Regions from separate parts of the Homo sapiens genome. Here all the other regions are linked to region 3. Evidence: promoter capture Hi-C in human tissues and cell types (Jung and others, 2019). All regions are on one chromosome and are shown on one strand. The core of a region is centred on a gene start or on the middle of the fragment in contact, and the rest is flanking DNA. Distances in the headings are between cores, read along the strand shown. Region 1 overlaps LINC00842 (long intergenic non-protein coding RNA 842). Region 2 has its middle 6.6 kb from the start of NPY4R. Region 3 holds the start of GPRIN2 (G protein regulated inducer of neurite outgrowth 2). Region 4 overlaps LINC00842 (long intergenic non-protein coding RNA 842).

Evidence for each region. The method cuts DNA at HindIII sites, captures the fragments that hold promoters and counts their contacts. A contact is called where the count stands out against the background at its distance.
Region 1: a fragment that was not itself captured here is called in contact with the fragment with the promoter of GPRIN2 in region 3 in 9 of the 25 tissues and cell types used here (H1 embryonic stem cells, IMR-90 fibroblasts, aorta and 6 more).
Region 2: a contact is called between a fragment that was not itself captured here and the fragment with the promoter of GPRIN2 in region 3, in 10 of the 25 tissues and cell types used here (adrenal gland, heart left ventricle, liver and 7 more).
Region 4: a contact is called between a fragment that was not itself captured here and the fragment with the promoter of GPRIN2 in region 3, in 8 of the 25 tissues and cell types used here (H1 embryonic stem cells, hippocampus, liver and 5 more).

Annotation. Positions count from the first base shown.
Region 1 is chr10:46,452,771-46,455,470 of GRCh38, forward strand. LINC00842 (long intergenic non-protein coding RNA 842) reads left to right here. Exons shown (of 4, transcript NR_033957.2): 4 at 1-536. Among named protein-coding and RNA genes, the nearest start is that of NPY4R, 12 kb to the right of the region's middle. The HindIII fragment of the contact is 3,578 bases long and covers 1-2,700 here.
Region 2 is chr10:46,471,181-46,474,027 of GRCh38, forward strand. No RefSeq gene overlaps it. Among named protein-coding and RNA genes, the nearest start is that of NPY4R, 6.6 kb to the left of the region's middle. The HindIII fragment of the contact is 6,341 bases long and covers 1-2,847 here.
Region 3 is chr10:46,555,408-46,558,126 of GRCh38, forward strand. GPRIN2 (G protein regulated inducer of neurite outgrowth 2) reads right to left here and starts at 1,251. Exons shown (of 3, transcript NM_001385282.1): 1 at 1,091-1,251. RefSeq lists enhancers at 582-1,287, 1,993-2,698. The HindIII fragment of the contact is 19,539 bases long and covers 1-2,719 here.
Region 4 is chr10:46,434,079-46,436,828 of GRCh38, forward strand. The region is part of intron 1 of LINC00842 (long intergenic non-protein coding RNA 842); the gene reads left to right. Among named protein-coding and RNA genes, the nearest start is that of NPY4R, 31 kb to the right of the region's middle. The HindIII fragment of the contact is 3,908 bases long and covers 1-2,750 here.

The sequences.
Region 1 (2,700 bases), core at 125-2,624, 100 kb before region 3:
GGTACCGTTGGTTAGGAATTCAATATATGAGTTTGGGGGGACACAGTTCAGCCCACACCACCTCCTCTGACCCTGAATTGGATGCTGTTTCTGCTCTGCTTATGATCCTCTTGTCCTCACTGGCCTCTTGGTCCAGCACCCACTGAGGCACCAGCTCTGAGAGAGCTCACTGGCTTCACACAGGTGCGACCTGATGGCGCCTCACCTCATACCCCAAACATCCTTCTCATCTCTGCAGGACCTGCTCTGTTTATGTCCAGGTATGTTCAGTGTTCCTGTGTGTCCCCAGAGTGTGGGGAGGTAATGCTCCATGTACGAACCTTTGCCAAGGGAATATGGAAACCGATGGATGAGTTCTTACCTCTTTTTTCGTCCAGACAAACTGTCCTAAGATGGTTTTAAGAGATACCGAGTAATCAGCTGCCAGCTCAGTAGCGCATCTTCAGATTGACTCTCCCTCCTTCCCTGTCTCCTTCCCCATATTCTTCATCTTGTTCCCTGGGATCTTTCTCCCTAATAAAGGAAAAGCTCATAGACCTCTGCCCCAGCTTCTGCTTTCTGGGGAATGCAGGCCAATCCAGCCACACTACTCTCCCTCCATGTAACCTGACCATGCCATCCCCCTGCTTAAAAGCTTTCAGTGCTTCTCCATTGCCCATAAAGCTCATACTTTCTAGCTATGAGCTTCAAGGCCACTTGGAGGTCATCTGGCCAACTGTCCTTCCTGCTACAACAGTCTAAGTCATAGGCTTTGGAAGATAACTGATTGGGTTTCATCTTTGGCTCTTATTGAAAATGTGGAAAAAATTATTTCACCTCTATAAGCTTCAGTTTCTTCATCTATCTGATCTCAGGATTGAGGGAAGGCAATGTATATAAAGCATCTGGCACAGTGGTTGGGGCACTAAATACATGGCAGCCAGTGTTTATTATTACAAACCAGGAAACCAGGATGCAAAGGGAGCTGCTTCAGCTCCCTTTCAGTCAGCAGACAACGGCTGTCAAACTTGGGACCAAACAGCTACAAAACCAGATGCCCGCTCTCCACAAATAAGAGGCTGAAGTGCAGCTCTCCACTGATGAACTATAACAGTTGGAAATTCACTTGTACTATGGATATTTCTTCTGCACCTCTCGTGAACAGCCTGTTCTTGCTGAGGGCTGGACAGTAAATAAAACATCTACAGTGCCTACTTCCATGGGGTTCATGTTCTAATGAGGGAGTGGAGACCCTCAACAAAGAACCAGCCAATGTGCTAAGTCCTGTGGCAGAAACTGGGCAGAAAAGGGAAGAGAGAGGGAGGATGGTTATATTTTTACAGGATGGTTAAAAAATTAGTCTTCTGTTTTTTGAGACAGGCTTTCACTCTGTTGCCCAGGCTGGTGTGCAACGGTGTGATCATGGCTCACTGCAGCCTTGACCTTCTGTGCTTAGTCAATCCTCCCACCTCAGCCTCCCAAGTAGCTCAGAATACAGGCTTGTGCCACCATGCCCAGCTGATTTTTGTAATTTTTGTAGAGAGAGATGGGGTTTCACTATGTTGTCTAGACTGGTCTCAAATTCCTGGGCTCAAGTGATCTGCCTGCTTTGGCCTCCCGAAGTGCTGGGATTACAGGCACAAACCACCATGCCCAGCCAGGAAATTAATCTTCTAATAAAGGTTCACTTAAGGTGAAGGGAGCAAGGGAGAAAGTTGATATCAAGGGGTGGCATTCCAAGCAGCAAGAGTAGGAAGTAGAAAGGCCTGAGGCGGGAAAGGTCTTAGCCTGTTCAAAAGATAGCAGAGAAGCAAGCACTGCTGAAGAGGAGTGGGTGAGGGGAAGGGTAGTGGGAAGTGAGGCCAGAGAGGGGTGGATGATCTGCAGACACAGGTGGAGACTGTGACTGTGAAATTTGCCCTGAATATGATGGAAAGCCACTGGAGGGTTGAACAAAGTTGTAGAGGCACCTGACTAGTTTCAGTGGATCACTCTGGCTGAATGAGGCCAGAAAGGAGGCCTCTGCCATGATCTCAGTAGGGAGGACAGTGGCTTGAACCTGAAGGCAGAGCCTGGAGGCAGTGAGAAGTGGTCATTCTGAGAACATTTTGAAGGCACAGCTTACAGAACTCACCGATAGATTGGATGAGGGTTGTGAATAGGAGGTGATCCCAAAGACTGTGGCCCAAGCAAATGAAAAGCAGGACTTGCCCTTTTCTGAAAAGGAGGACACTGAGGAAGGAGGTAGCAGGGACAAATCTGGAGTTTGCTTTTAAATGTGCCAAGCTTGAGATGCTGACTGGTGTCTAGGAAACACAAAGCATGCCTGGACACCCAAATCTGGAGGTCAGGGAGAAGTTCAGACTGGAGATACACTGGGGAACATTAGAGTATTTGTGGCATTTAGCACCAGAAAACTGGGTGAGCTCACCAGGGGAATGAGAGGACCTCCAGGGCTCCTTGGGGATGCTCCAGTGTCCCAAAATCAGGGCAACAAGAGTCCAAGAAAAGAGATGGGGAAGAAGAGCCCAATGAGGCAGGGAGAACCATGACCATTATGCCCTGAAAAAGCCACATGCAGGAGTCTCAAGGAGAAGGGAGTGACCAACTGCCCAATACAGCTGACGACCATATCAGACAAGACTGAGAACTGGCCACAGGATTTGGCAACATGGCAAGAGCTATATGAATGGACTGGTGAGCACATAAGAGGAGAGGAAG
Region 2 (2,847 bases), core at 158-2,657, 84 kb before region 3:
TCCCAAACACTTTTAAACCATCAGATCTCGTGGAAACTTACCATCATGAGAACAGCATGAGGTAAACTGCCCCCATAATCCGATTACCTCCCACCAGGTACCTCCCTCGGCATGTGGAGATGACAATTAGAGATGAGATTTGGGTGGGGACACAGAGCCAAACCATATTAGAAGGTACTCCAGCACAACTGGTATAAAATCAAGCAAGGAGAGATGAGGTCAAAGAAATGGTTGAACAGGCCCAGGAGCCTGGGATTTTCTTTCCCTACGCAAATAGTAAACCTGCATTACTGTATTTCTAGGGGAATTACAGGGATCGATGCCATGATTAAAGACATGAAAGATGCAGGGACAGGGAGGCCTGTCACATTTCTGCCCACTTGGCTCACCTCTTTAGCTCTTTAGCCTGTGCAGGAAGTTGCTGAATCTTGGAGAATGACTGTATGTCGTCGTAAATTTAATCAGGCAGTAACTCCAATTTTAGCTGCTTTTCTAAATGCAACATAGAACAACTTAACCACTCTCAGCACTTAGTATGTAGCTATTGACTCAGCTTGTGTTTTCTCCCCATCTGTATCGGTAAGAACCAGCAGAAGTTTGCTTTCACCTGGCAAGGATAGAAGTACAAAGTCAGTGTCTTCTCCCAGATCATGTTCGTTTTCCAGCTTTCTGTTATAGTGTGGTCTACAGAGACCTTGATCTTCTGAACATCCCACAGATCCACAGATGGTATGCTGGTGCACTACACTGGTAGCACATGCTGATTGAACTGATGAGCAGGGAGAATAAACCAGATGCCTTCATAAGATGCATGCAGCACATGGGCATGGGTGGGACAGTAGCCATCATAGCCCGGGTAGTCTAAGCTAAGCACACGGGATATGTACCAGATGGCACCCATCTGGCGTGGGGGAGCCTGGCATGGCATGTCAGAGCCAGAATAGGACAAAGAGTGGCCATGCAGGGAGGCAGGGGCACGGTGGCCTAGCACAGGGTGTTAGAGTCCAAGTACTGTCAAATGAAAGTCCACATGGCAGAAGGGGACAACCAAGTGTGGATGTCAGAGCCACACAGAATGAGTGGAGGGGCAGAGTTCTGCTATGGAAGATTGGGTATATGCAGGGGGACCAACTGAGCAAAGTTGGGAGCCAGTTTTCTCACTCATGGAGAAGGCAGTCATGAATATGGAAGGAGGGAAACCCAGAATAAGCCCTGTGGTTTTGATTAGAATTGAAAGTATTGAAGTGAGCTCATGGTTTTCTATATAGAGAGATAAATATTGATCTAATAGTGTGTGTGCATATATATCCTTGCTCTGTCCACTGAGAGAGTCTAGGAGCAGTGATACCCCAATAGCAATGAACACTCCTAGCACCCATATATTGACTTCTAAATGCCATTCTCCATTAAAAGAATCCAAGTCTCCTTCGGAAAATGGCTGATTCCAGGGCAAGGGCTGGGAAAGCCCAAGATAAACCTGAAAGATCTTGGGAGCTAGAAAGTAATGAAGTACTCTAAGAATGAAGGGTGCAGGCCAGAAAAGCCCAGAACCTGGCTTGAAGGGGCCCTTGATGGCCAAATCTTCGACCATGTGAGCATCAAAGTAAATAATAATGATGATGGATAATAACCTACTGAATAAAATAAAAATCTGAGTCCATTTCAATATAACTAAATGATGGAGTAAAGTGACAGTTTGATGAGGAATGGAATATATTCATGGTTTCAGTGTGCCTCATCACAAAATATTTGTTTATTACAAAGAGAAGAGTCACCTTACAGTGGAGAAGGCTGGCAGTCACCTCTGTAATCAAATGATCATAGCGAACACCATCTCTAATCCTAGAGTGAAATTACTCACCGCATGACAGGATGCAAGGAAAACGCAGCACAGCTTCTGTGATCTTCCTGCTGAAGGTGCATGCAAGTGAATCCAACCCTGAAGAAGCATCAGCCTCAACCCAGGTGAGGGACATACTACAGAATAACTGGCCTGTCATCTGGAAACATAAGGCCATGGAAGTCAAGGAAAGAAGGGAGAACCATTCCAGATTGAAGGAGACCAGAGACAGGAGAATGAAACCTGTGTATCTTGGGACAGCTGATGAAACTTTAGTGGAGCCTGCAGATGAGGCGGTAGCAAGGTGTTCATGCAAATTGCCGGGATCATGCTTTCAAATGGCATAGAAAAATTAATGTTCTTTATCCTCACTTTCAACTTTTCTATAAGTTTAAGATGATTTAAATTATATTTTTAAAGGTGTCAAAAATTTTCTTCATCTTTATAGAATGAAACAGAAATAAAAATTGAAAGTGGTAACCTCTGGAAATAGAACTGGGGGAAAGAAGGAAAGAATATCAACGGGAGTTATCTGACCCATAGGATTTTAGGTCATTTTTTGCTTTGTTTCCTTTTCTAAATTTCTCTCTATTAAAAAAGAATGAATGATTACAACTTTATAAAGGAAAGAATCCATAAAATATATGTAATTAAATCCCATGGTACAAAGGGCAAAGAAGCTTGGCAACAACGCTTCCAGCCTCAGTTTTGTCATATGTAAAATGGAGCAAAGATGGGTTCAGGCTCATTACAAACTGGTGAGGGTTCAAATAATTAAGGGATAGGGATAGAATATCAAAGTATTTTCAAAGCCACATAGAAGGGAGGTGTGAGGGAGGGTTCCTAGGACTTCAAAGTCGGAAGCCGATAAGGGCCTGGCCTTCCCAGAAGCCTTCTAAGTAGAGATTCTGGCCAGCAGGGCTGCTGAAGTGGGCACACCTGCTGTAGGAGGCGTCTCCTTGGGCCCTGAGGGATCACCTGTTCTTTGTTTGCCTTTGCTTCTCTGC
Region 3 (2,719 bases), core at 1-2,500:
AAACCCCCATTGCACAGTGGGGATACAGCACCCTCCAGGAGGTGGTTTAATCCACCCCAGAGTGAACGGGGCCTGATAGGAACACTCAGGGCCAACTCTGGGCAAAGCAGCAGGCAGCATTCCTAAAGGGAGGGTTTGGAGGAGACAAAACCTGCCCTTCACAATGAACGTGCCTTAAGGGCTACATGCCCCGGGTCACAAGCTGTGCCAGGAAAGGGTTCTGGGGTAACTGTGGGGTCAGTGGCCCCATGGATGAGGCTCTGCTCACCAGGAAGAGGCCTAGGCGCCCAACAGCCCCTGAGCTTCCTCCCCTGGGGAGGATTTGCCCACAATCCCTGGGGGGCACCTAGGTGGAGAGGGTGCCCCGGCCTAGAAGCAGCCTAGGCGGCCGGTGTGTCCCTATCTGCACGCTCACAAGCACTCATGCCCCAGCCTGGGACACACAGGCCCGTATGCAGTAACAGCGTCTACCCAGCTGCACTCTGCACGCCAAGCACAGGCCGCCCCTGCTGCGGGGCCAAAGGCCTGAAAGCACCGCACCACGCAGCCTCGCCCAGAATAGCTCCCCTCCCGCCCCTCCTGCACAAAGCCCACCCGGACTTAGGGAGAAGGGGGCTCAATACGGGCCCGAAACGAGGCTACAGACCTTCTCAGGAGCAAAGGCAGCGACTGCAGGCAAATGGGGCTGTGGGCCGGGGTAATGATGCGGGACAGGAGAAGCCAAAGGGCAGCAAGGCTGGGGGCGGGGTAGGCGGCGCAGTAGGCTGAGGGAGGGGAAAAGGAAGAAGGGGAGAGGGAGGAGCGATGGCAGCAGGGGTGGAGGCCGAAGGAGACAGGGTCCCGGACAGACTTGTGAAAATGGGAGGATGGGCAGAGGAGACGTAGAAGAGGGGACAGGACAGGACAATGAGAGGCGGAGCGCGGGGAGTGCGATGCGGCCACCGGGGGCTCTGGGCGCTGGGCAGGGGCCAGGATGCCGGGGGTCTGAGCGCAGGCAGCGGGAAGGAGTGGGTTCTGAGGCTCAGCAAGGGGGAGGTGCCGCCCACCACGCCCCCCGCCCCAACGGGAGCGCGCGGAGCCAGCCTCTCACCCTCTCGCCCGCCGGGGCCGCGCAGGCGGGGGAAGCGCTGCTCCTGCGGCCGCCACAGGTGCCAGGTGCCGCGGCCCAAGATGGAGCCAGAGCCGACCTGGCCTGGGCGCGAGACGCCGCCCGCCGCCGTCGGCCCGGCCCGCGGAGCAAGCGCCGGGTACAGGGAGGGGCCAGCGGGGCAGCTGGCACCGGGGCGGCGGGAGGGGCGGCGGGCGGAGACCTCGCTCACCTGGGCCCGTGCCACTCTGGAGCCTGCCACCGCCCCGCCGCGGCCCGGGATCTGCGTCCGCGCGCCCCCACCCCTCCTTCCCGACCCCTCCTCAGGCCGGGTCCCCACTGTCCTCGGTCTTTTCGGCCCCGCCCGCACCACGACCGCCTGTTCTCCAGGCTGCCCAGCGAACCCCCAAGACTCCCACTTCCCCGACGCAACCCCACCGTCCCGGGTGTATAGGCGCAGCTCCCCACGATTCTCCGGCCCCAGACCCAGCCCCTCAAGTCCACCTCCTCGTAGCCCCACCCCCTCGCTCCAGTGCCCCTCGCTCCAGTTCCCCCTCCGCACCACGCCCCGCATTGAGGTCTCCGCGCCGGCGGCTACCCCTTTCCTCTCGCCTTCTCCATCCTAGCTCCGCCTCTCACAATTCTCTGGCTCCAGATCCCGCCCACGAGACCCCGTTTCCTATAGGGCCCTTTCGTCTGGGATACCAGGCCTGGTCTCCACTAGCCTCGGACTTTCCAGCCCCAGGTCCCAAATCCTGGACCCACCGTCCCATCCTCTGAGCTCCACTCTCATGGACCCCAAACCTCACTCCAGTCCTTTGAACTCCATGATCCTGGCCTGGCCTGGCCCCCGGAGCCCTCCATTGCCCCTCAAGAGCCCAGCCTGGTAGACTCCTTCCCTAGGGTTGCATCTCCAGCCCCGCCCCTGAAGACTGGTAATCTACCACCCCTTTCCCTGCCCACGTGCCCCTACCCAGCCCGACTTGAGGCCTTCAGTCTCCCAGCCGCGGACCCCAACAGCGGGCGAGGGCAGTGACCGTGCGGGGATGAGCCACCTCCACTGGAGCCCGCCTTCTTCTCCGCAATTCCCCGCAGCACCACAGCGCCTTCCCGGTCCCGTGACGCCGGGGGCCAGCCCAGGCCCTGGGATCGCCAGGTTCCACACTATGAGGCTGAGGACCTGGGCCTACGGTTCCCTCAATATCCCCCAGTTTCCACAACCGCTGGCCAGCTTCAGGGCGCAGGACAGGCAGCCCCGGCCTCCCGCCACTCGCAATAGATTCCTGCTGTCCACCCAGGGCCACGTGGTATGAGGCACCTGTACTATCTCTGGGCCCCAGTATCACATAATTGGGTCCCAATGTTGGCACTTCTCCGTTGTCCCCTGTGCCGGGACCCCCAACTTGTTGGCCCAGCCCTGTGCTGAGAGGCCTGCGTTCCTCCCTTCCAGTGCCCAGGAGCCAACAGTATCTCTAATTCTCCCCGTTTGGGTAGCAAAGGACCTCAGTCTGCCCAGAGAGACTCAGACTGCCCCAGGTAGCCCTCTCCAGCGAGGTCTGAGAGCAGCTCTCAGATTCTGGCAGATGGCTGCCTTTGGCCAAATGCCCACAGGGGTGTCGACGTCAGACCCCA
Region 4 (2,750 bases), core at 247-2,746, 120 kb before region 3:
TCCATTATAATGAAAGTTTTGTGTTCAGTTGGAAACAATGTGGATTCTACGAATACGGTGAATTGCATTGATTGATTTATTGCGCTGTTGATTAAACTGACTTTGCATTCCTAGGATATAGAACACTACACCTAAAAATCTGTATTTAGGTAGAAGGTTCTATAGGCATCAATTAAATCAAGTTGGTTAGTAATATTGTTCAAGTGTCCTTCCCCTTTATTCATTTTTTCTACTTGTTCTATAAGTTACTGAGAAACAAGTATGACAATTTGTAAATATAAGTGTAGATTTCTCTACTTCCCCCTTCATTTCTGTCCATTTCTTTGTCATATTTTGAAGTTCTATTATTAGGTGAATATATGTTTACAATTTTTCTCTTTCTGATAAATTTATCATTATGAAATGTTCTCGTTTATTTCTTGTTCTGCATATTTCTTGTTCTGAAGTTTACTTTTTCTGATATTTAACTAGCCCCTCCAACTTTGTTATAATTGGTGCTACATGGTATATTTTTTTCCATCCTCTTACTTTTGACCTACCTGTGCCTTTAAATTATTGAGGTCTTCAGACAACATAGAGTTGAGTCTTGCCTTATTATACAGTCTAAAAATATTTGTCTTTTTATTGGAATTTTTAGACCAGTTTCATTTTATATAATTATCAGTATAGTTGGGTATAAATCTACCATTTGTCATTTGTTCTCTGTTTATTTCATCTGTTCTTCATCCTTTATTTCTCTTTTCTTGATTTCTTTTAGAGGAATTAAAAATGTTTATGGTTCTATTTTATCTCCACTGTGAGTTCATTAGCTATAACTCTGGCTTCATGTTTAGTGGTTGCATGAGGGTATACAATATGTATCATTAGCTCATTACAAATATACTATTATAACACTTTATGTACAATGTAAGACCTTACAACCATATACTTCCGTTTCCTCCATTCTGTCCATCATGCTATCATTACATATTTTGCTTTAATAGGTTATAAGCCACACAGTACATTGTTATTATTTTTGTTTAAACAATCAATTATCTTTTAAGGAAATTTAAAAATGAGAAAAGCCTTTGTATTTACCCACATACTTACCATTAAGTGTTTTTCATCCTTTGTCCACTTAGTATCACTTCACATTAGAAACACCTGGTGAGTCTTATTATATTTGTTAGTGTGAGGAAAATAATTGAAAGTATACACCGTTACCCAGCTCCTTGTCTCTTATAAGGGGTTGATTAGGAGTATCCAGTGGTGATATCTTTATTGCTAGATCATGCCATGGACTATTAGTGCTCTCTTTACAATTGGAAATAAAGTTATTAGCAACTTAAAATGTAATCAGATTAGAGACCCAATTTTGGAATAGATAGATATGATTATACTTAAATATAATATATAACTATATATAATTTTGTACATATGCATAACGTGTGTGTGTGTGTGTGTGTGTGTGTGTGTGTGTAAGGAATTGGCTCCTATGATTATTGAGGCTGACAAGTCCCAAAATCTGCAGTTAGTAAGCTGGAAACAGCAGAGCCAATGGTGTACTTCCAGTTCAAAGGCTGGCAGGCTCAAGACTCATAAAAAGCTGATACTTCAGTTCAAAAATGGCAGGAAAAAAAAAAAACCACCTCCCAGCTCAAAGCAGTCAGGCAGGATGAAATTCTCTCTTACTTGCAGGAGAGTCAGTCTGTCTGTTCTATTCCGATCTTCAATAGATTTGATGAAGCCCACCCACATTTCTTAGCCACTGGCATTTAGCAATTGGATTATGTTTTACCTTGCATAGTTTTCTTTGTGCTTATCTTGCTTTTGATCTATTGAGCATCATGGATGGGTGGTTTTGTATGTTTCATCAAATTTGGAGCATTTTTTACCATTATTCAAATATTTTTTCTCTTCCCTCTTTCCTTTCCTTCTCAGCTTCCAATTACAAGTATGTGATCCATATACTTGCATGAATATTTTCCCACAGGTTACTAAAGATTCATTTAAATTTTCTTTTTAGTCTCTTTTGACTGAATTTTAGTTTTGAAAGTTTCTATTGCAACTTTCAAGTTCACTGATCTTTTCTTCTTCACGTCTAATCTGTTCATTTCATAAAGAAATTTTTTTATTTAAGATTTTTATTTTTGGCCCTTGTATTTCCTTTTTAATTTTTCTCCTTCTTTGATGATTACTTTCATGTTTCCTTTAAATTCGTGTGTATATCTGTAATTGGTGTTTTCAATCCTTTGTGTGCTATTTCCAACATCCATCATTCCTGAGTGTGTTTCTATTGACTGGTTTTTCTCTTGGTAGGAGTTGCACTTCTGTGCATCTTTACATGTCTGTATTTCTTATATGACACCAAACATTGTTAATTATACCTTACTTAATGCTAGATTTTGTTGTCCTCCTCTAAAGATTGGTAGATATTTTTCTGGCAGCCAGCTGAGTTACTTAGAAATTACCCTGACCCTTTTGAGGTTTGTTTTGAAGCTTTGACTGAAGGAAAGGGGTTAGATTAGACTTTATTTAGGGCTTCTTTACTCCTCCTGCCAAGACATGACTTTTCTGGGATGTCAACTGAACGCACCAGATTTTCTACAAGGACGCTCCACTCTGGCTGGTAGGAATGCAGGAGTCCCCCCATGTCCCACATGAGCTCTGAAAGTGCCTGCTCACTGCTTTCCAATCACCCTTTGCCCAGCCTCCTGGAGTTTTATGATAGACATCCACAACCTAATTTTTATAACAGATCCATGGGGAAC